Regions from separate parts of the Homo sapiens genome. Here all the other regions are linked to region 4. The links are contacts of gene promoters, found by promoter capture Hi-C in human tissues and cell types (Jung and others, 2019). All regions are on one chromosome and are shown on one strand. The core of a region is centred on a gene start or on the middle of the fragment in contact, and the rest is flanking DNA. Distances in the headings are between cores, read along the strand shown. Region 1 overlaps AHCTF1 (AT-hook containing transcription factor 1). Region 2 has its middle 21 kb from the start of MIR3916. Region 3 overlaps AHCTF1 (AT-hook containing transcription factor 1). Region 4 holds the start of ZNF670 (zinc finger protein 670). Region 5 overlaps ZNF496 (zinc finger protein 496).

Region 1 (2,794 bases), core at 122-2,621, 150 kb before region 4:
TGCCACAGGACCTGAGAAGAGGGCCATGTTTCAGGGAACTGTGCTGCTGTTTTGGGAGAAAGGTGAAGGCCCAAAGGCGTAGAATATAAATCTGGCAAAAGAGAGATCCGAGGTACAAGTCATTACCGTTTCTCAGCACTCCCCCTCCTATCTATTGAGTACAGAAAGGACTACATTCAGTTCCAACACCCAGCCCAAGCCATTCTCACAGAAGAGAATCAATACTATCAAACTGAAACCTGTGGTAAAATAACAGGATAACAGCCACTTCTAACAGATGTGTTTAACTTTAAAAAATTTATAAAGAAATATTTACATTAAAAGAACTACTATAAATTTAACAATTCCTTTCAGTTTTCTTATGAAATTAACTATTTCTAAAAATTAGCATTTCATACAATAATCTCTATGAATTCTTCCATCTGTTTATCTTTAAACAGAGATATCTGAAATATTCACAAAACATTAGTGCCGTTTATTTTTGTGTGATGCAAATTTGTGATTTGCTCATTTCAGTATGGCTTGGATTTCTTATAAAATCAATAATTAAAGAATTTTAAAACATATATATATAAAATAAAAATGCAACTTTAAAAATACAGTACATATTTATGTAGCCTTAGGATGGGAACAAGGCAAAAATCAACCTAACGTTCTTTCTTGTCATTCTTATTCTCTCCACATCTTAGTCCCCTCCCCCAAAAAAATTTATGTGAAAAAAACATTTCAAAGATTCACTCAAAAAATTAAAATATATGAGTTATCATTTTCTGTTCAGGCTATAAATGCTATCTCCTAGACAAAAACTTGATGGACTGCCTCAAAAACTTAATCACATATGTCACCATTAAGTCACAAAACCTAAAAAGTTATGTTTGAGATTTCCAAGTCATCAAAAGTAGAAGTTTGCTTTTTATTATCCAAAACAGATCCAAAAGTCTAACCTAATATAAAGGTGTGCATCAATAGGAAGCTATGACCATTAGCCTCCAATACAAAACCCTCATGAGGGTCCTATACTCAAGCCTTAGTTGCTCTTATATACACAAATGGACCCTATTCATCTCCTAAGTAGCTTAGTACCAAAAAAATTTTTAGAGAAACAGATGGAAAAGGCCAGAATCACATTGTTACTATGTTGTTTTCCCCTCTGACAGCCTTTTATATAGCTTGATAAAACTAGTTTAATGATGAACTGAAGTTAACACATTTTTCCTACTAAACTTAAAACCAAAGTAAGTCAACCAGAACCAAAACCTTCAGAATTCCATGCAGTAGCTTTTTACAAAGTGTATTCAGAAGAGTGCTAATGGATAATGAGCAAAAAAGTTCCATGATCCCTATACTTCAATCAAAATCATCTCAATACAATTTTGGAAAGATTTTCACAAAATCCAAAGTCCAAAGGATAACACACAAAAAGCATTTTTTGGAAAATGAAATATAGTAAATGTTCTATTTCTTAGGCTGGGTGAGTTTTGTTATGTTGTTTGAATGCAAAACAAAGATGATATAGAAGTACTAGCTCTAAGAGAATAAAGCCACAGTATTTAAACTGTGGCCAGACATGATGGCTTATGCCTGTACACCCAGCACTCTGGGAAGCTCAGGCGGAAGGATCTCTTAAGACCAGGAGTTGTAGGTTGCAGTAAGCTATGATCAGGCCACTGCACTCCAGCCTGGGCAAGATCCTGTTTCTAAAAATATAAAAAATAAACCTAATGTGGTTTGTATAACTGTCCCCTCCCAATCTCATACTGAAATGTGATCCCCAGTGTTGGAGGTGGGGCCTGGTAGGAGGTGTCTGGGTCATGGGAGAGGACCCCTCATGAATGGGTTGGTGTCCTCTCCACAGTAATGAATTCACATGAGATCTGGCTGTTTAAAGCCAGGCATGGTGGCTCCCAGCACTTTGGGAGGCTGAGGCAGGCAGACTGACTGAGCCCAGGAATTTGACACCAGCCTGGGCCACATGGCGAAATCTCATCTCTACGAAAAATAATTAGCCAGGTGTGGTGGCGCCTGCCTGTAGTCCCAGCTACTGGGATTGCTTGAGCCTGGGAGGTCAAGGTTGCAGTGAGCCATAACTGCACCAATGAATTCTAGCCTAGGCGACAGTGAGACCCTGTCTTTAAAAAAAAAAAAAAAAAAAAGGCCTGGTACCTCCTCACTCCCCACTCTCATCATGTGAGTATCCTGCTCTCCCTTTGCCTTCTGACATGATTGGAAGCTTCCTGACACCCTCACCAGAAGGTAGGCAGCTGCTGGTGTCATGCCTGCACAGCCTGCAGAACCATGAGGCAAAATAAACCTCTTTTCTTCATAAATTATCCAGTTTCACATATTCCTTTATAGCAACACAGGCTAACGTATTTCTAATTCAAACTTTGAATCCAGGTTCTAGCACTTAATAATACATGTAACATTGTGCTTTACTATATTCTGTCTTCCTCCCTTTCATATCCAAGCTTCTAGAAAAGAGGAGTACTTATTTCTCCAGACTTCATCATGGTGCCTAGCACAAAGGAGTTCAAAAAAATGTTTAATAAAGTTTTTCAAATTTAACAGCCTTTGAATCTATAGGGCAAAATTGGTTTTAAGACTTTTCCAATTTAAGCACACTACAGAGAACATCGAAACACTCTATTATTAGAAATAGGGGCCAGGCGCGGTGGCTCACACCTGTCATCCCAGCACTTCGGAAAGCTGAGGTGGGTGGATCACCTGAGGTCAGGAGTTCAAGACCAGCCTCACTAACAGGGTGAAATCCCGTCTCTACTAAATACAGAAAACT
Region 2 (2,823 bases), core at 152-2,651, 140 kb after region 4:
TTTGTTTTTTGAGACAGAGTCTCACTCTGTTACCCAGGCTGGAGTGCAGTGGCATGATCTCGGCTCACTGCAACCTTCGTCTCCCAAGTTCAAGTGATTCTTCTGCCTCAGCCTCCTGAGTAGCTGGGATTGCCAGTGTGTGCCCAGCTATATATATGCCCAGCTAATATATATATTTTGTTTTTTTGTTTGTTTGTTTGTTTTTATTTGCAGAGACGGGGTTTCACCATGTTGGCCAGGCTGGTCTTGAACTCTTGACCTCAAGGAATCCGTCCACCTCAGCCTCCCCAAGTGCTGGGATTACAGGTGTGAGCCACCTCCTAGATACCTTTAAATAGATGAAGATGAGCTACTTTTTACTGAAGAAAGATTCTTCAGTGGAGGCGAACCTAGCGGCTCACTCCTGTTGGCAGTGGGTTACCAGTTGTGTGGAATTTGAAACTAATTTATACGTTCGTGAAATTCTTAAATTGTGTGGTCAACCAGACATCCCAGGGCTTCAGACAGGTCGAAGCCATCCTCCAAAAGGTGAATGATAGCATGTGTTCACCAGAAGCACTTAATGAGACATGGTACAATTTTACATCTCCTCTTTGACTCTGTTGGACAGTTGTACATGGTGCTAAACAATACTGAATATTGTATTTTTCTTCCCCTGATTTTGCTACTACAGAAAGCTTAATTTAAAAGGTGGCTGATATCCTGTTTCTTAAGACACTGATAATAAATACACTAAAAAGGGAATATGGATGTGTTTATAGGAAAAGCTAATAGTTTGCTTGTGGGCATTCTAAATGGTGGATGACAAGCTTAACTTTAAACGTTTTTTTTTTAATATTTATGTTTTTTTTCTAGTGAGTGGGTCTCCAGGCTTCTATGACTTGTGTTACCAGGCTAAAGATAAAGATGGAATCCTCGTTAAATCAGACCATGCCAGTCTCAAAATTGAGAGACTGATCACAAGGGAGAAATTGTTAAATGAAATAAGTGGAAGACCATTGTCCCAATGCTGTCTTTCTACTTTCAGTTCCTGTGTAATAAACTACAACCTAACTTAGTATGCAAATAAACGAAAACCCAATTTAGGAGTGTATTTTTTGGTATAGATAGCTGGGTCTCAGCCAGTCACAAGCACTGAGCTTCAGCCAATTCCAGGCAGCCAGCAGATCACAGCATGTCGAAATGAGGCACACACCTTACTGTAATCAAGTGGAGGAAAGAATCTCAGAACTTGACTATCTTTCTGAAATAAGACAGGCAGACAAGAATAGAGAAAAAATGTAAAGGGACAAACAAAACCTCCAAGAAAGATGGGATTATGTAAAAGACCAAATCTGTGACTGAATGGGGTGCCCGAAAGAGATGGGGAGAACAAAACCAAGTTGGGAAACATACTTCAGGATATCATCCAGGAGAACTTTCCCGACCTAGCAGGACTGGCCACCATTCAAATTCAGGAAATCCAGAGGACCCCAGTAAGATACTCCATTCGGAGATCAACCCCAAGACACATAATTATCAGATTATTCAAAGTTGAAATGAAAGAAAAAATGTTAAGGGCAGCCAGAGAGAAAGGCCAGGTCATGTACAAAGCAAAGCCCATCAGACTAACAACAGAGCTCTCAGCAGAAGCCAGAAGAGACTGGGGGCCAATATTAAATATTTGTAAAGAAAAGAGTTTCCAACCCAGAATTTCATATCCAGCCAAACCATGCTTCATAAATAAAGGAGAAATAAGATCCTTTTCAGGCAAGCTAATGCTGAGGGACTACACCACCAGGCCTCCCTTGCAAGAGCTCCTGAAAGAAGCATTAAATGTGGAAAGGAAAAACCAGTACCAGCCACCACAAAAGCACACTGAAGTACAGAGACCAGTGAAACTATGACACAACCACACAAAAAAGTCTGCAAAATAACCAGTTAGCATCATGATGACAGGATCAATTTCACAAATAACAATATTAACCTTAAATGTAAATGTGCTAAGTGCCCCAGTTAAAAGACACAGAATGGCAAGCTGGATAAAGAATCAAGCCACATTGGTATACTGTCTTCAAGAGTCAATCTCACATGCAAAGACAAAAATAGACTCAAAATAAAGGGATGGAGGAAAATTTACGAAGCAAATTGAAAATAGAAAAAAGCAGGGCTCACAATCTTAGTTTCTGACAAAACAGGCTTTAAACCAACAAACATCGAAAAAGAAGGGCATTACGTAATGGTAAAGTTCAACAAGAACCAACTATCCTAAACATATATGCACCCAATACAGGAGCACCCAGATTCATAAAACAAGTTCTTAGAGACCTTCAAAGAGACTTAGACTCCCACATAATAACAGTGGGAGACTTTAACACCCCACTGATAATATTAGACAGATTATTGAGACAGAAAATTAACAAAGATATTCAGGACTTGAACTCAGCTCTGAACCAAGTGGCCCTGATTAATATCTACAGAACTCTTCACTCAAAACAACAGAATATACATTCTTCTCATCACCAGGCATGGCACTGACTCTAAAATTCATCACATAATCATAAGTAAAACACTCCTTGGCAAATGCAAAAGAACTGAAATCAGAACAAGCAATCTCTCAGACCACAGCACAATCAAATTAGAACTCAAGAAACGCACTCAAAACCACACAACTACATAGAAATTGAACAACCTACTCCTGAACGACTCTGGGGTAAATAATGAAATTAAGGAAGAAATTAAGAAGTTCTTTGAAACTAATAAGAACAAAGAGACAATGTACCAGAATCTCTGGGATGCAACTAAAGCAGTGTTAAGAGGGAAATTTATAGCACTAAATGCCCA
Region 3 (2,851 bases), core at 70-2,569, 220 kb before region 4:
GATACTGAATTGTATAGGTGGTCTGGTAAGTCCCTTTCATTATGTATAAAGTAACGAACCATTTATAATGTTGTAAGTTATATTTTGTGTCGGTTAATTTTACTGAATCACCCTTACTACTACTTGATAACTGAAGCTGTCCCTTTTTTGTATCCTCTACAACGGTGTTATTCAAAAGTGCGGACATGCAATCTGTGTCAGTCTCGCAATGAGACAAGGACCTCTTGCCAGAAGGTGAATCAATTGCTTCACTAATCATACTGATTAGTACAGCTGACTTTCCGTAAAGGAGGCAGTGCACTTATCTATATTCCAAGGCAGGCTGTTTATCTTGTTGCAGAACATAAACTGACACTCTCACCAATCTGCTTGACCATACTTTGAATACGTCATCTGGTAAAGTGTCAATGAAAATTATTTGGGAGTATGTTTCAAATGGTCGTTAAAAAACACAAACTTAGAGTCATGTATTGAACAAATGGAAGGAAATAAAACTGTCTGTCATCTCCCCTGTGCTCTACTGTGTCTACCTACAAGAGTCTTGTGCCTGATCATCCTGAAACCACTGGAAAGCAGAGGGCATGGAGGTATGCACAGCTGTGAGCGAAATCTTGGTCTTCAACAAAAACAGAATCACCAGAGTTCTGCCTCAATTTACCGTGTCTCTGTATATTTCCGAAACTTTATAGTAACTACTAAATGACATATAACTGCACAACTAAACTTCTTTTAAAACAGCCAACATTACCAAAATGGAGATGTTAAAGATCTAAGTGAAATCTAACATGCACAGAATATTTTACTTCTGGTTCATAATTTCATTAAACTTCTTTCTAAAAGTATTTGAATTTCTCTCCATTAACTTACCCTTCATAGACTGATGGTGCACAAAGAGAAGCTTCAGTTCCTTGAACCGGGCTTAAGTGATTCAATTCTGAAAATGCCTCTGCTGCAACTAAGAGATCCTTTGTTTCTGCATCTTCTAAATTGCCTATAAGTCATACAAATAAGAATATTATTTATGCTAAATATTTAGTGATTACTGATAGTCTTGCATTATTACTTTTTAAAAAGTTGTTGGGTCTGCTTTTTTGTTCTTTTAGGTTTGCTGCTGTGTTATCAGACTGCTAACACTTTCTTCTTTTTTTTTTTTTGAGATGGAGTCTTGCTGTGTCGCCCAGGCTGGAGTGCAGTGGCGCTATCTTGGCTCACTGCAAGCTCTGCCTCCCAGGTTCACGCCATTCTCCTGCCTCCGCCCCCCGAGTAGCTGGCACTACAGATGCCCGCCACCATGCCCTGCTGATTTTTTGTATTTTTAGTAGAGACGGGGTTTCACTGTTTTAGCCAGGATGGTCTCGATCTCCTGACCTCGTGATCCACCCACCTGGGCCTCCCAAAGTGCTGGGATTACAGGCATGAGCCACTGCACCCGGCCAACACCTTCTTCTTCTAATTCTCTGAACCTAGCTCAAGAGCCCCCCTTAACCTCTCGCTTTTCACTTTTTGCTGAACAGGCACTAATGCAACTGTTTTATATACATTAACTTACTTAATCCTCAACATTCAAAAAAAGTAGATAAGAAAACTGAAGCCTAAGGTTATACTGCGTATCCCAGCTCATGACGCATACTCAGTAAGTAGCTGAGCTAGGATTCAAATCTAGCTTCACTATAGAGTTTGTGTTGTATGAAACCCCACCCACCACAAACACAATAAAGATTTCTGGCCAGGCACGGAGGCTCATACCTGTAATCCCAGCACTCTGGGAGGCTGAGGCAGGCAGATCACGAGGTCAGGAGTTCGAGACCAGCCTGGCCAACATGGTGAAACCCCGCCTCTAATAATACAAAAATTGGCTGGGCATGGTGGCACGTGCCTGTAATCCCAGCTACTCGGGAGGCTGAGGCAGAGGTTGCGGTGAGCCGAGATCACACCACTGCACTCCAGCCTGGGCAACAAGAGCGAAACTCTGTCTCAAAAAAAAAAAAAAATAAATACAAATTTCTATTTGAGACTGCCTAATATTGTAAGAATAATCAGTGAAGATAATGCTATGAACATTCTTTTAACAGCTACCATTTAAACATGTTAGTAGAACAAGGCACATCAAAAGAGCAATGTAGGCCAGGACCGGTGGCGCATGCCTGTAATCCAGCTACTTGGGAGGCTGAGGCAAGAGAAGAGGTTGCAGGAGCTGAAATAGCCCCACTGTACTCCATCCTGGGCGACAGAGCAAGACTCTGTCTCAAATAAGTAAGGCAGTGTAAATTTCTAGACATATGCTATTTATGGGCATGGTCCTAAAGTTCTTAGAGTAATTAATAATGCCCATGCTTACTAAGTAAAGATATCGTAGTCCAAACTTCAGTGGACTCTCATCTTAAACTACTTAAGATGCAGATTTTTATGTAAGTATGTAGTTTTACAGCTTTAGAGTTAGGAGTTACCTTTAAATAACCTTGTTAAAAACGTGTGTAGGGTAAGAAACATACAAATAGGTTCAGTTTTCTGACCCACCAATTCTAGGTGAAGTCTCTCCCATTTACTAGTGTTCCCCTGGCCCTCTTGTTAACCAAACTGGATTCTAAGTGTTTGTCAGTATAGTCCACCATGCTCTGTGTGACATGGGAGCAGGTGCCATTTCTACTTGACTCACTGTTTGATCTTCAACACCTAGAATAAACACAGTAGGAGCTAACAGGAATACATACTTCAGGAACTCAAAACATTTTTTGATCACTAAAATAATATTTTTTTTCTTTTTGAGACAGGGTCTCATTCTCTTGCCTGGGCTGGAGTTCAGTGGCGCAATCACGGCTCACTGCATCCCCAACCTCGACCTCCTGGGTCC
Region 4 (2,953 bases), core at 47-2,546:
CAATTAACTGTCAGGTGATTATTTTCTGCTTTCCACTCATGTGTAATGTTCAGAAATATTTTAAGAGTGAAAACAAATATTTTCAGAACGACTCACTACTCTGAAAAAAATAACACACTTCATCTGTATGAAATGTACAATAAAAGACAAATACTTGATAATGTTGCATTTGAATATAGGAAAAGAATTGGAAATTTAGGGTTTTACTACAAGCCCCAGAAGAGTTAGGCTGTGGGAACAGGGTCGTTGATGTGAGATCCTGTTGCCATACACTTAGAAATGTGGAGTGTTATGTGAAAATAATTAAACACAGGCACTAGGGAGACTGAGGTGGGGGGATCGCTTGAGCCCGAGTCCAAGACTCCATCATACACATGTACATACACACATGAATGAATAAACAACCAACCAAAACGTAACTCATGCTTGTCTTGTAAATTAATAACTTAAAGGGAAACAAAACAGCCTTAAACAACCACGAACCCACCAATTAACCTCTGGTTACATAACCAGGAGATATCTGGCTGCACAGTCTATATGGGGTGACTACATAACTGTACACGATCAATTATTTAATTGGGTTTGCTTCCTCGGGTTCCTTACAAAAAACCCTTTCCTTCCCCAAACCACAAACCACGCTGGTGGCTTCCTAACTCACGACTCTCTGCTCAAATAAACTCCTTAATATTTTAACGGCGCCTCAGTTTTCTTTCTAACAGGAGAAAGGAGGATTTGGAGACTTCACAGACCACAGCTCCTCCCACGCAGGAACCCCGAACCCCAAGTCGGGACTCTCCCCTGAGGACCCTCCCGTCGGCACCGCACGATCCGAGGGAGATGCGGGTCTACAGAGGCAGAGCTGCCCAGAAAGGGTTCCGGGCCTGGCCGAAGCGGCGGGGCAGGGACAAGCCAGGCGGCCCGGGGTCTGGCTGCGGGTCCAGCCCCGCATCCTGTGCCACTAAGGCCGCGAGGCGCCGGCGGAAACTCGGGTCGGCACCGCGGGGAGGTCCGGGTTCGCCACAACCGCTTCCTGGCGGTTCCCTTTTCCCCTTCCCGAGACACCTGGCCGGCACACTCACCATTTCCCAGTCTCCGGTGTCTGGGGTCCTCCCTAAGGACCTTCCGGGACCTGCAGGTCCCAGAGCAACAGAAGCTGCCGCGGGACCACTTGGACCTCCCAGGGATAAGGGGAAGGAGCAGCGGAGACGCACCGAGCTCGCCACATTCGCGCTGCCCAACACAAAAGCCGCGCCAGGTCCCGGAAGCTGCTCCCTCCTTTCGCGGCGCGCTTGAGAGTACAGTCCCCTTCCCAGCGCCCGATTGGACAGGGCCTTAGGCCCCGCCCCTTCAGTCCTGAGTGACGGGAGATGCAATCAGACACGGCGCTGAGTGAGGCCAGGTTCTTTCCCTGCAGTCCTTTTCTAAGGCATGGATTCTGCCCTGTGCTGAGACCTGGCGCCCCCCGGGGGACTTTCCCATTCAAGCTCATACACAGGATTATGTCCATTTATGAGTAATATTTGTGATATTTACAATTGGAAACACTATGATGACAATTATTCTAAAATTTCAGATTTCACAACCTTCCTGGCCTCTGGTCTTTTGAGGAGGCAGCCTGAATTTTTTTTTTTTTCTTGCTTCTAGTGGGATTAGAGGCAGCTTGAATTTTGAAAAGACAATGTCCTCTCAGGTAGCAACGCCCCATAGAAATAAAATGTGAGCCGCGTGTGTTCCAGTAGCAATAGAAAAGAAAACAACACGTGAAATTGATTACAATGATTTATTTAACCAAATATATCCAAAAATATTGTTTCAATATATGATCGATGTTAAGCTCGCGCCTAATTGAAGAGACTACCCAAACAGGTTAAGTGTGAGCAGCAAGGCTAGTTTACTCACTCGGGTGCGAGCGGGCTGAGTCCGAAAAGAGGGTCAGCGGAGGGTCGTGGGATTGGAGTTAGTTTTATAGGTGAGGGGTAAGCAGTGGAAAGTTACAGTCAGGGGCCGTTTATTACCGGCGGGGGAAGAATGTCACAAAGTACATTGTCACAAGAGGGAGGGGTCACAGTGTCACTAGGCTGATTGATCAGTTAGGGTAGTGCACGTCACAACGGTAAAATGCTGCAAGGTTGGCTAATCAGCTAAGACAGAAACTAGCCGTTTTTCTTCCTTTGTGGTTTTCCTGTTGTCCCAGACTTTCTGGCTCCAGGACCTTCTGGATGTACACGTGTGGGTCACAGGGATCACAATGGCTTGACCATGGCGCAGCCTGCTCAGACGGCCTTACAATCGATATATTATTAATGAAAAATCACTCTATATATTAAGCTTCCAGCATGTTTCAATTCAGCCTGCACATTTGGATACACGTGTCTGGTTTTACCACTTTATTTTAAGGTTGTTCGGGAATGTCTGCCTGTTCCTTTCATGTAACTGTTCATTATTTATTGATTACTATTTCTTAATTTCACTTATCTCAGTGAGAGTTGCCAAATAGTGGTTTTCTAATTATTTTCTCTACAGGTATTAGTTCTCATTCTTCTATTAAAAATGGCGTTTTCTCATGAACTCTCTCCATTACATTAAAACCTACCCTATTAGGAAAGGAAGAATAAAAGCTTGATTCTCCCTTTAATCAATTGTCATAACAATGACGGCGTGGCCTCAGCAAACAAAAAAAATGTGAGTGACTTTTTTCTAACCTTATTTTTTGTGTATTTAATGAGATTCCATACACTGCAGTCTGTATCTATTTTTTGAGCTCAAATTATCCCTTTTTTTTTTTTTTTTTTTTGAGACCGAGTCTCACTCTGTTGCCCAGGCTGGAGTGCAGTGTGGCATGATCTCGGCTCACTGCAACCTCTGCCCCCCGGATTCAAGCGATTCTCGTGCCTCAGCCTCCTGAGTAGCTGGGATTACTGGCACCCACCACAACGCCTGATTAATTTTTGTA
Region 5 (2,867 bases), core at 244-2,743, 240 kb after region 4:
ACTTTTAGTGCACTGGGAAGAAACTATCACTGGGAAGAAACTATCAGAGTAATACAACAGTACTGACTTATCAAAATCTCTGTACTGTGCTCGCTATGGCATTTACTAGGGACTGCAGGAATTGAAAGATGAAGACCAAACCTCATTAGGTACTGGATTAACAGCATCCCCTTATGTGTTATACTGGTTAAATGTCCAAATTTTAATAAGAAATACTGGTTTTACCTCCTTTGTGTTTGGAAATGGTCACAGTACACAGCAGATGCTGACATGTATGTGTTGAGCATCAGGGTAAACAGGCGTGTGCCACATTTCTGGTGGGGCAAAAGCAAGTTATGGAGATGCCCCCTAACTGGGTAACCTGGCTAACTCCTTCCCATCCCTAGCCCTCCCTTCTCCAAGTTTAAAGTCATGTTGGCTGGGCACAGTGGCTCATGCCTGTAATCCCAGCACTTTGGGAGGCTGAGACAGGAGGATCACTTGAGGTCAGGAGTTTGAGACCAGCCTGGGCAACATGGCGAGACCCTGTCTCTACAAGGAAATACAAAACTTAGCTGGGTGTAGTGGCATGCACCTGTAGTCCCAGCTGCTCAGGAGACCGAGGTGGGAGGATGGCTTGAGCTCAGGAGTTTGAGGCTGCAGTGAACTACGACTGTGCCACTGCATTGAAGCCTGGGTGACAAGGCAAGACCCTGTCTCTAAAAATAAAAATAAAATAAAGTCATGTCAAATGAACTGTGCAGAAAGCAAACTGCTCAGCTTCCGACATTCTGCTGAGACATGGTAATAAGAGTGTCTACTGTTTTTCACAGTTTTCTGTTGGGTAAGGAGCAACTAAACAAAAGCAGGAGCCACACATCCTGTTCCCATGGGAGGGGATGATGCTGTCATAACTAAATCTTGTGCCAGCCAGTGGAAAGTGTTAGGAGGGAAAGTGAAGGAGATATGGCCAGAAAACATGGCCAAAGACAGCAACTGGGCTAGAGAGAGGCGAGTAAGATCACCTGCTGGACCAGCCCCCAGCCCTGACTCTGACTCCTCAGAGCACCCGAGTAAGCAAGTCTTACACAAAAACACGAACGAGAACATTCGAGGAAATTCTGGAATGACTCACCACGTAGATCTGTGACAGGACTGAAATTATCTGTGCTTTCTTCCCTCCACTTCCTAACATTTCTAAAATATAACCATTGCTGCGATGATTATTAAATTGAAAAATTCTCTGTAAAATAAAAGAGCAGAGAGATCTCCTTTTTCACAAGAGGGGAACTTAGACATGCTGAGAGGCCCATCAATGGGGACTCATGGGCCTTTGTTTCCTGCTATCGTCTGCACAAAGCTTCCTGAAGGTGGCCTGATGACAGTAGACCCAGTGGGCGGCTGGGACCACAGGGAAGGAGGAGAAATGGGGCGTCTCTTAAGCTCACGCTCTGCCTATTTTAGCTTTTCTGGGCTGGGACTGAACATCCTGTGTGGCAGTCAGAAAGCTGGCTGGGGTCCTAAGAAAGCTGCCCTGTAGCCTACAGAGGCAAACAGGGGATTTTCAAGGACTCCTGTAGAAACCACTCACCGGGGGTAGCTGGAGGGTGGTCACCTGCTGTGTGTCCCGCACATTCTCTTCCTGAAGAAGGAAAGCATCTTGCAGAACTGAAAGAGATCAGAAAATGGTGTCCTAAAGTGGGCCAGGGCCAGGCCTGGTGCTGATACCTTCTGAGCTTCCTGCGGCTCTTCATTTCCATTTTGGTAGCAAAGAAAATCACAAGAGAGGCACCAACAGGGAACTGTTTCATGGTGCTTTTCATAAAACCCCAGTCTCTGTTCTTAACTGTAAAATGAGGATTACAAAATGACGCACATGAAAAGTACTCTGTAAACCACAAAGATTGCTGCGACTTTGTTTCCAGATATAACAAGGGGGGCTGTAACAGAGTGTGCCTGGGTTCATGATAGCACGGTCAATTAAATGAACTCTTTCACCTCGGGTAGGTCCCCGGACCTCAGCATTGTTATCCAAACTATGGGAAAATAAAGGTTAAAACTCTATGGAGTTCAGCCGTGTGTGGTGGTACATGCCTGTAATCTCAGCTATTCTTATTTTGGGGACTGAGGTGGGAGAATCACTTGAGCCCAGGAGTTCCAGACCAGCAGGGACAACACAGAGTATTTGTTTCTTAAAAAGAAAAAGAAAAAAAAAAAGAAGAAGAAAAAGAAAAAGCCGTAGAGTTGAGGAATCTATAAGGACTCTTAGGGTCTGGATGTGGTGGCTCATGCCTGTAATCCTAGCTCTTTGGGAAGCCAAAGTGGGAGGATTGCTTAAGCTCAGGAGTTCAAGACCAGTCTGGGCAACATAGGGAGACCGCATCTCTATTAAAAATAAAAAAACTGGGAAGCTGAAACAGAAGGATTGCTTGAGCCTGAGAGATGGAGGCTGCAGTGAGCCACAGCTGCACCACTGCACTCCAGCCTGGGTGACAGAACATGGCTCTGTCTCAAATGAAAAAAAAAAAAAAAAAAAGTAAGGGCTGTTGGCAATCAGAATTACTGTGGAACTCCATAAAAAAAGAAGGAAAATCCTGTCATTTTTGACGACATGAATGAACCTGAAAGACATGCTACGAGCAATAAGCCAGACACAAAAAGAAATACTGCATGTTCTCACTTAAATGTGGACTCTAAAAAAGTTGAACTCATAGAAGCAGAGATCAGAATGCTGGTTACCAGAGGCTAGGGAATGAGGGGACTGGGGAGACATTGGTCAAAGTGTACAAAATTTCAGTGACATGAGAGGAGTAAACTCAGGAGTCCTATTGCACAACATGGTGACTATAGGCAGTAACAACGTACTGTGTACTTGAAAATTGCTAAGA

Evidence for each region. Contacts are between HindIII fragments. The study calls those that stand out against the background at their distance.
Region 1: a contact is called between a fragment that was not itself captured here and the fragment with the promoter of ZNF670 in region 4, in 2 of the 25 tissues and cell types used here (adrenal gland and bladder).
Region 2: a contact is called between a fragment that was not itself captured here and the fragment with the promoter of ZNF670 in region 4, in 2 of the 25 tissues and cell types used here (aorta and ovary).
Region 3: a contact is called between a fragment that was not itself captured here and the fragment with the promoter of ZNF670 in region 4, in 2 of the 25 tissues and cell types used here (H1 embryonic stem cells and hippocampus).
Region 5: a fragment that was not itself captured here is called in contact with the fragment with the promoter of ZNF670 in region 4 in 1 of the 25 tissues and cell types used here (spleen).

The regions. Positions count from the first base shown.
Region 1 is chr1:246,923,914-246,926,707 of GRCh38, forward strand. All of the region lies in intron 1 of AHCTF1 (AT-hook containing transcription factor 1), which reads right to left. Among named protein-coding and RNA genes, the nearest start is that of AHCTF1, 6.6 kb to the right of the region's middle. The HindIII fragment of the contact is 6,720 bases long and covers 1-2,794 here.
Region 2 is chr1:247,221,937-247,224,759 of GRCh38, forward strand. No RefSeq gene overlaps it. Among named protein-coding and RNA genes, the nearest start is that of MIR3916, 21 kb to the left of the region's middle. The HindIII fragment of the contact is 5,898 bases long and covers 1-2,823 here.
Region 3 is chr1:246,856,824-246,859,674 of GRCh38, forward strand. It overlaps AHCTF1 (AT-hook containing transcription factor 1), which reads right to left. Exons shown (of 36, transcript NM_001323342.2): 30 at 868-991. Among named protein-coding and RNA genes, the nearest start is that of LINC01341, 69 kb to the left of the region's middle. The HindIII fragment of the contact is 4,756 bases long and covers 1-2,851 here.
Region 4 is chr1:247,077,515-247,080,467 of GRCh38, forward strand. It overlaps ZNF670 (zinc finger protein 670), which reads right to left and starts at 1,297. Exons shown (of 4, transcript NM_033213.5): 1 at 1,080-1,297. The coding sequence starts at 1,082. ZNF670-ZNF695 (ZNF670-ZNF695 readthrough (NMD candidate)) reads right to left here and starts at 1,297. Exons shown (of 7, transcript NR_037894.2): 1 at 1,080-1,297. RefSeq lists silencers at 1,160-1,473, 1,262-1,331. The HindIII fragment of the contact is 11,562 bases long and covers 1-2,953 here.
Region 5 is chr1:247,321,584-247,324,450 of GRCh38, forward strand. It overlaps ZNF496 (zinc finger protein 496), which reads right to left. Exons shown (of 10, transcript NM_032752.3): 6 at 1,571-1,647. Among named protein-coding and RNA genes, the nearest start is that of ZNF496, 8.8 kb to the right of the region's middle. RefSeq lists an enhancer at 1,050-1,554. The HindIII fragment of the contact is 8,506 bases long and covers 1-2,867 here.